2 separate regions of the Homo sapiens genome follow, and region 2 is linked to region 1. Evidence: promoter capture Hi-C in 16 types of primary human blood cells and fetal thymus (Javierre and others, 2016). All regions are on one chromosome and are shown on one strand. The core of a region is centred on a gene start or on the middle of the fragment in contact, and the rest is flanking DNA. Distances in the headings are between cores, read along the strand shown.

Evidence for each region. Contacts are between HindIII fragments. The CHiCAGO score rates a contact against its expected background, and 5 or more counts as called.
Region 2: a fragment that was not itself captured here is called in contact with the fragment with the promoter of HCFC1-AS1 in region 1 in 2 of 17 cell types (activated CD4 T cells and total CD8 T cells); the score reaches 6.2 in activated CD4 T cells.

The regions. Positions count from the first base shown.
Region 1 is chrX:153,966,583-153,970,632 of GRCh38, forward strand. HCFC1-AS1 (HCFC1 antisense RNA 1) reads left to right here and starts at 2,183. Exons shown (of 3, transcript NR_046608.3): 1 at 2,183-2,488; 2 at 2,617-2,789; 3 at 3,203-3,509. All of the region lies in intron 1 of HCFC1 (host cell factor C1), which reads right to left. RefSeq lists enhancers at 1-416, 3,607-3,846, 3,836-4,050 and a silencer at 2,642-2,820. The HindIII fragment of the contact is 6,911 bases long and covers 1,693-4,050 here.
Region 2 is chrX:154,717,240-154,721,289 of GRCh38, forward strand. All of the region lies in intron 1 of GAB3 (GRB2 associated binding protein 3), which reads right to left. Among named protein-coding and RNA genes, the nearest start is that of GAB3, 32 kb to the right of the region's middle. RefSeq lists an enhancer at 2,115-2,409. The HindIII fragment of the contact is 1,115 bases long and covers 1,496-2,610 here.

The DNA of each region.
Region 1 (4,050 bases), core at 933-3,432:
CTCCATGCAAGCTACCAGGGTAAACGCATAACGAGACCTAAGGCTGCCTGGGCCAACTGCTCTCGGTAGGTAAAGGGGCAGAGCCCAGGAGGGCAAGCGACACCTGAGGTCACAGCGTAAAACAGAGACAGAGACAACAGCCCCATCACTGACTTGAAGCAACCGATCTGTGCCTTCCCTAGGGTCCCATGTCCAGGCAGCCACCCTCACTCCCCTGAGCACCCTCGTGGTCAAAGCCCACAGCTATGGGGCTGCGGGTCAGAGTTTGGGACAAAGCTAAATGGCACGTGGGGTCAGTGGGCAGCTTTCCTATCACACGCTGATCAGTGAGCCGGTGGGCCAGGCCAGAAGCGCCCTGTGATATCTTTGGGGATCCCGCTCACCAGATCCTTCTACAGGACCCAAGAGGTGCTGATCTCATTCTAGAACACTCCAGGCAGGGCAGGGGCCCTCCCCACCCCCGTCAAGAGAGGTCTGTCAGGGAGCACAGCTCCTGGTGTGACGACAAACCTGCGGCTCCTCATCTCACCCACGAGTCCTGGTTCCGCCCCCTGAAAGCACACGAGCAAGCTCTCCTCCCTTCTCCCAGCTTTTCAATGTGACAGCTGCTCTCAGTCACCCCTGAATCATCTGGGGGGTGTCATGTAACCCAATCCTTGGGCCCCTCATCCTGGAAATGCTGGCTCTCAGCTGGGAGGGGAAGGTGGGGAAAGGACCCTGCACTAGATGAAGACCACTCCAGCTCCCCTCTCCTGAGCAAGGCTGTGCCCCGGCCTCTCTGTGTTTCATCAGCTCCCCCAACCACTTCATGCTCTGCAAGCTCCATCCCTGGTTGCCACTGTCCCATCACCACCTAGAGACTGGTGCCCATGCAGTGAGGTGGCCGGTCAAGTTCAACGAGCTGCCTTCCTCTCTGTTCTACCTGTCACATTAGAGCATTTCCTGTGTGGCATACGACGTGCTGGGAGGCACAGAGGACACCGATCTTGTGCTCATACTCCCAATGGGGTAGGAAGGCTGCATGCCCCCCTCCCACGATGAGACAAACACCCTAGAAGAGCTCTGACCAAGCCGGGCCCTTGGGAGCACAGAGCAGTGCGACTGCTGGAGAGGGGAGGACAGGAGTGGAAAGGGCTTCTCAGAAGAGGTGACGTTTCAGCCGGGCCTTGAAGGGTGAACAGGATTTCCCGACAAATGAAACTAGCAGGGCCAATCAGGAAGTGACTGCAAGAGTCTAGTAAGAGGAGAGGAGGGCTTGGTGTGGAAGGGGACACATTTGATGCCTGCCCAACGCAATGAACAATTAGATACAGGGACAGAGGAGAGAATGGAGGCATTTCAAAGGTGATGGGCCCCAAAGACAGGTGGCAGAACGGCCTCTATGAAGGTTTGCACTCCCGCCCAACTCCGCCACCAGCTGGGAGGGCGACCCTGGACCTGTCACTTCCCCTCTTGGACCCCAATTTCCTCATCTGCAGAAACAAGGAAGTAGTTCCACTAGGTATTTTCCAAGGCTCCCTCCAGCTCCAAGAACCTATGGACATTACAGAGCCACCGTAGCCAAAGCTCTCGCTCCCCCACCCCCCACACCTGGCAGCACTCTGAATCCTTTGGCTTGCCACATGGAACTAAAATTCCCTAAGGACAAGCACAGTAGCTACCCTAAGAGCTCTCAAAGCACACACCCCCTGAAGCTTTCTTATCCTAGCAACGGGAACCCCTTCCAGATCAGCTCTCTCCAAAGGTACAAGGCTTTTTGAGGACTGATCCCGCAGAACTGCAAGGGGCACAGGCGTGAGAATATGCCCTGATCTCATCCCAAACACAACAAAAGAAGACAAGACAAAGGTGACGAGGCCGGGCTGGCGGGAGGGGGCAGAAACCCCGGTGAGGAAGAGGGCTTCAGGTCTGCCAGCTGCTCTCTCGTCTGAGGAATTGCCGATGACAGTTTCCAAACTGCTACCCTGGAGGATCCCAGAGCTTCATTTTAAGCAGCCCTTTGGAAGGCAGGCTACCCCTCTAATGCACAACCTGTCTTTGCAGACTGGTAATGAATTCATGCCAAAGTGGTCAATTCATTTTAATAAACTAATGAATATGCAGAGGCCCCAGGAAGCCAAGGCAGCAGTGGTGGTGGACTCTGGAGCCGACTGTAATTAGGCCCCTGCCCTACTTTCTAAAATTGCATTTCCCTGCCAGGGAGCCTGCTCCAGGCCTTATGAGAAGAAAGTCGGTCCACAGAGTGGAGAAGGTGCTGCTCATGGTGACGGTGCCTCTATAAACAGCCCCACCACTGGAGAAGCCTTAGCTTACTGAGCTAATTCCTGCTACTGCAGCTGCCTGGGCTGGCGCGGGGCACCACCAACCACCAAGCGCCCCCGCCCGGGGGCTGCTGAGAAAGGCCCTGCTCCCTGGAGGCAACAGGTGCTGAGAGACCTGGAACGAAAAACGGTCACAGACAACCCACCAGCCTTTCAAAGTCAACGTGGTAGGTGGCGATAATCTCCGAGATGTGGAGAAACCAGCACTTTCTGCCTTGGGGGGTGGGGAAGGAAGCGGCACCCAAGAGCCCAGCTCCAGCCTTCCCAACTCCCTAAACCAACTTTCTCCCTCCAGGCAGCTCCAGCTTCCCACCCCCAGAGCATCGAGGCACTGGAGCTCAGCCAAAGAACAGCAGCCTCTCACCGCTCAGGACACAAAGCCCACTCAGCGAGGGTTTGTCTGCAGGGCCACCACCGAGGCCAGGGGATCGCTAGAGCCCCCAGGAGAGAACGGCCGCGGAGCAAGGGGTTAGTGCTGGGAGCCGTGCCTGCCACTCAGGACTAGGGCATCCCAAGGCCCTCCCCCAGCCGCCTGCAGGGGGCTTTTCCCTCACCCAGACTCTTCCAGCTCTTGCCTGGGACCGAACTCACCCTGACCCTGCCTTCTGGGCAAGGCCAGGGTCCTGTGGGCCAACGGGCAGTCAGTAGGCAACTTGGGAACTGACCCTTGTGCTAGGGGCACAAAACGGGCCAAGTAGCCACCAAGAAAAAGGATGCCACAAAGCTGTCGTGGACAGCAGCAGGCTTTCTGCCCTAGAGACTAAGCAAGGCTACTAGGCAGAGGCAACAACAAACGGCCCCCACGAAGGCCGTGGTGCATCAGCCATACCTGAAGAGAGAGGTTCCTCCCCTTCCCAACTAACGGGCTTTGGGTTTTGCAGGGAGGCAGAAGAGCGGGTGGGGTAACCCCCTGGATCCGCAGAAGCGGGGAGACACACGACTACGCAGGCCGCTGAGGGGTAACTGGAATTCAGCTTGTAAACCAGAAGGCACCAGATTAGGAGAAGGGGCGACTTGGAAAGAAATGCTGCAGAAGTAAACGTGGAAAGGGAGAGGCGGCCCTGCCGCCGGCCCGTCCTAGGGGTCCCCAAGGCTCCGGCATTACCCGGGTCGGCGGATGTTAAACTCTGCGTCCTAAGAGCGCTTCCCTTCCCTCCCTTTTTCGAGAGACAGAGAACGAATCTGTAATCTAGAAATGGTCATTTCTCCAGAATGGGCACTCGAGATGAGGGAGAGCTGAGCAGGCGCAGGAGAAGGGAGGGAGGGAGGGAGGGGAGCTCTGCCTGCGCCAAGGGGACACATCCGCCCGCCCCAGCCCCAGCCCCAGCCCGCTGGGTAACGGTGTGGGTCTGAAGTCACCACCGCTGGCGACAGCCCCTCTCCCTCACCAGTCGGACTAGGGGCTTTCTTTTAACTAACGAAAACCAATCCTCAAACACGGGAGAGACAAGGGAACGGGGAGAAGATCAGAGAAAAGCACTGAAGCCCGGCACAGCAAAGGGGAGGGGCAAGCCGATCAGTGGGGAGGGAGGGGGAGGAGGGGAGAAGGGGGAGGGGGACGGGGAGAGGGGAGAAGGACGGGTAAGGGAGGAGGGGAGAGAGAGAGGGAAGGGTAGAGGGTGAGGGAGGAGATGGAGGGAGGGAGGAGAGGGAGGGAGCAGATGGAGGGAGGGAGGAAAGAGGAGGGAGAGGGAGGAGATGGAGGGAGGGAAAGAGCCGAAGACCCAGC
Region 2 (4,050 bases), core at 803-3,302, 750 kb after region 1:
CAAGGGATTTTTTAAAGATGGGAGACTCTTAAGCATTCACCCCCTAAGTCACAGTGTTTTTCAACCAGGGATGGTATAATTCCTCTCGGGAGCATCTGAAAATATGTGGGTTTTGCTTGTTATAAAGGCTGGAGATGGAGTGGGGGGTGGGGCATGGCAGGATTGGCCTAAAGCTATCAGTGCCCCTGTTTTGAAACACTGTAAAAACAAAAAGGAATTTTCCTTAATGGAATAGGAATCTTGGAAAGAGCCAAGCCTGGAAGTCAGATGAACAGGTAAAGCTCAGTCCATGCTCAGAAAAGAAAAGAGAATGATATTCCACAGAAACCAGTGCCAAGATTTGACAGGTCTCTTTTTGTGCCCTGAGAACAACTGAGAATGACCTAGGGCTCCTTGGCTTCCCACTCACCATTGACTTAGAATTTTTGATGTAGACAGTACCATCTTGGCTCAGTACAAAGAAAGGGTGCAGATCTCTGGCCTGGGGAAAGAGGTATTTACAATTGACCAAAGCCCTAGGGAGTCCCCTGGATCTGTAAACCTCCCTGCCCTCTCATGGAGCCAGGGGGAAGGAAATGTTTGAGTTCCTTGTCTTACATTTAGGTGCCCTTTGTTCATCGAAGGGCCAGATAGGCCAGCCTGCATGGATAGCGTATCCTTACTTTCTGCGGTAGGGAACTATGGCATTAGCCCCAGTTGGGAATTGAGCACAGAGAAGGATGACGGCTGACCGCAGGGAGATTTATAGCTCTGTGGTTTTTCTCTCCCATGCGGTAGCATGTGTGACAGCAGGAAGTGTGGGGTTCTGCCAGGAGGTACAGCGACCCCTGGGACAGGAAGTCTTTTGTATCTCTAGCTTCATTTATGTGTGATACTTTTTAAGCCCACCAGCTTTGACCAAGAGGCCAGGGAAAAAGGAAAAGACACTATTTGGAGTATTCTCAGCTCCCTCCCTGCTCAGAGAACATGAATCTGAGATGGCAGAGAATCCAAAGAAGCACTGACCTCCAATTATGCCTTAGAATAAAAAGCCCTTCCAGGACTGAGGCAAGGGGCAGCAAGCAGAAGGAAGGCAGTCACTCCATGTCAGGTTGGGGCAGGTGAACCCTGGTTTGCTCCTGCCTTTACAGACAGTATAAAGCTTTGAAAAGAGGTCTGGCCATGAGTCAAACAAGGAGACCATCTCAGGAGACAAACAACGTGGTGTGATTAAGTCCATGTTTTTAAGACAGGAAAAATAACAGCATGTTTGTATGCTCGTGGGGGTGACCCAAGAGGGAGAGAAAAATTGATTCAGTAAATTCCTGTTGCAAAAACGTGGCACTGGATGGGAGTAGAGCCACTAAACATAAGAGAAGGAGCTCAAGTTTTGCTGTGGGGTTTGAAAGTGGGAAACCTGGGCTTCTGGCATCAACTGAGGCAAACAGGAACATAAGGCCTAGTCCAGGGAAGGGGCTCAGGGGATGAGAGAATGCCATTTGTGCCTGCTGAGGAAAGCTTTCATGGGGAGGGAGCATGGGGTGCTCCAAACTTTCCAAAAGCCACTTTGGTGGGGGAAATGTAAAGAGGAACTTTGTTGCACTTCCCAAAAATGATTCTAAAAGAGGAAGTCAAACTAAGCACAGAAACAAGTTTCACATTAACCGCTCTTAGTGTTATGGAGACAATAGATTTCTTATCTTTTAATAACAATATTGGAAGAGAAGTAACACCAAGAGTTTATTTGAGTGCCTACTCTGCACTGTGCATCCTGCTAGACAATGAAGCTAGAAAAGGGGATTAGAGCTGGTCCCTAAAAGACCTCACTCTCTAGCTGGGATAGGGAGAAGGGTAGAATTATGATATGGGTAGATTTCAACTCAGCGTAGTGAGCGGTCTAGCAGAAGAATGAACCAGGAGTGGTGGGAGTGCAATGGGAAGAGTGACATGAAGAAGTTTGGGCTTTATCCATTCATTCAACAATTACCTGTTGATAGCCCACTAATATGCTGGACACTGTGCAGATACTGGGGAAGATGAAGTGAGCAAGCCACATGCCCTGCCACTCACAGTCTCATGGGCAACAAGGGAGTGAGCAGATGGATAAACAGACGATTGCAATCAGTGAGATAAGTGCTACGATAAGGCAAAACCAAGATGCTATGGGAACAAACAAAAGAGACATCTCTCTCAGATCAGTTGTCTGGGGAGGCTTCCAGGAAGAAGTGGTGACTAAGCTAAGGCTAAAGTGGGGCAGGAGGAAGCAGCGTGCACAAAGGCATTAAGGTGGAAAGGCTCAAAACTTTGCGTAAGTAGTTCAGCAGGGCTGGAAGGCAGGCATGAGGGTGGAAAGGAAAAAGAACAGTCACACAGTAACTTAAATAGGACGTAGCATAGTCTTGATGCTGAATCATGCAAAATCGCCAGTGTGTCATCCCTTAGGTTTTTAAATCTCTACATAAGAGTTTTGATTATGCAAAAACAGAAGTGAGGTGTTCTTGGAGCTCTTTGCTAAGTAGGTAAAACCAGAGGCCACATATAGTTCTGTTCCACCAGGCTTACAGGCTTCTGGAAAATGGAAGACATGTGACAAAGCCCCTGAAAGCAGTCAGTCTGCCAGCACTAAAGTGAAGCTTTTTACAGTGAAACAATGCCACAAGGAATGACGAGGGCCATGTCAAAAGGACTTAGGGGCTAACCTGAAGAGGCTACCACTGGCCATATATGAAAGAATTTTTGCTTTCATAAATAGTCATATGCTGCATGACATAATAGTAACAATGAACCAAATATACAATGGTGGTCCTATAAGATTTTTTTTCAATCCTCCGAGACATCTGAATCCCAAAAGATTTAATACCATATTTTTATTGTACCTTTTCTATGTTTAGATACACAAATACCTACCATTGTGTTACAATTGCCTACAGTATTCAATATAGTACCATACTGTACAGGTTTGTAGCCCAGAAGCAACAGGCTATAACATATAGCCTAGGTGTGTAGTAAGCTAGGTTTGTGTAAGTACACCCTGTGATGTTTGCAAAGTGACTAAATCACCTAATGACACATTTCTCAGAACATATGCCCGTCATTGAATGATGCATGATTGTGTAATAATTATAGTAGCTTGAAATCCATCAAATACACTTAAATCCATGAGTTCATTATGATATTAGAAAAATAATTTGTCGTCAGGAGATCGAGACCATCCTGGCTAACACAGTGAAACCCCGTCTCTAATAAAAATACAAAAAATTAGCCGGGCGAGGTAGTGGGCGCCTGTAGTCCCAGCTACTCGGGAGGCTGAGGCAGGAGAATGGCGTGAACCCCGGGGGGCGGAGCCTGCAGTGAGCCGAGATCGCGCCACTGCACTCCAGCCTGGGCGACAGAGCGAGACTCCGTCTCAAAAAAAAAAAAAAAAAAAAAAAGCAAAAGAATTTGTCATCTTCAGAGGATGTAAGGGAACTACTTCATTTCCTTGAAAACTACTTAAGTAAAAGGGAAGAATCAAGCATTATCCAACCTTTCCTCTACGTGAACTGTCCCACTTGGGTAGATGAAGGGAATGTCTCTTTATGAATGTATTCTGATCAGTAATGGAAAAACAAATGACAGAATTAGAATATCCCTATTTGCTAGCCCCAGTGAATTAATAGGTATAGCCATTAAGCATCAACAGCTGCTAACTTGGGAAAAGAAACAATCAGACATTTTGTGCCTCTGATAGCCTGATATGAGGGTGCAATCAGCAGAAGCCAGCCTGTAGAAAACTCTACAGGTCAAAAGCCCAGGTTCTTCAATGGATAGGTTATAAGAAAAAGAAAAGCACAGGAAAGGAAGCAATCAATAAAATGAAAAGGCAACCTATGTACTGGGAAAAAATGTTTGCAAACTACATTAAGGGGTTAATATTCAAAATTTACAAAGAACTCTTACAAGTCAATTGCGGAAAAAGAAACAAAAAATGGGTGAAGGATCTGAACAGACATTTCTCCAATGAAGACATAAAAATGTCTAGCAGGTATCTTAGTCCATTTTCTTTTGCCATAACAGAATATCTGAGATTGG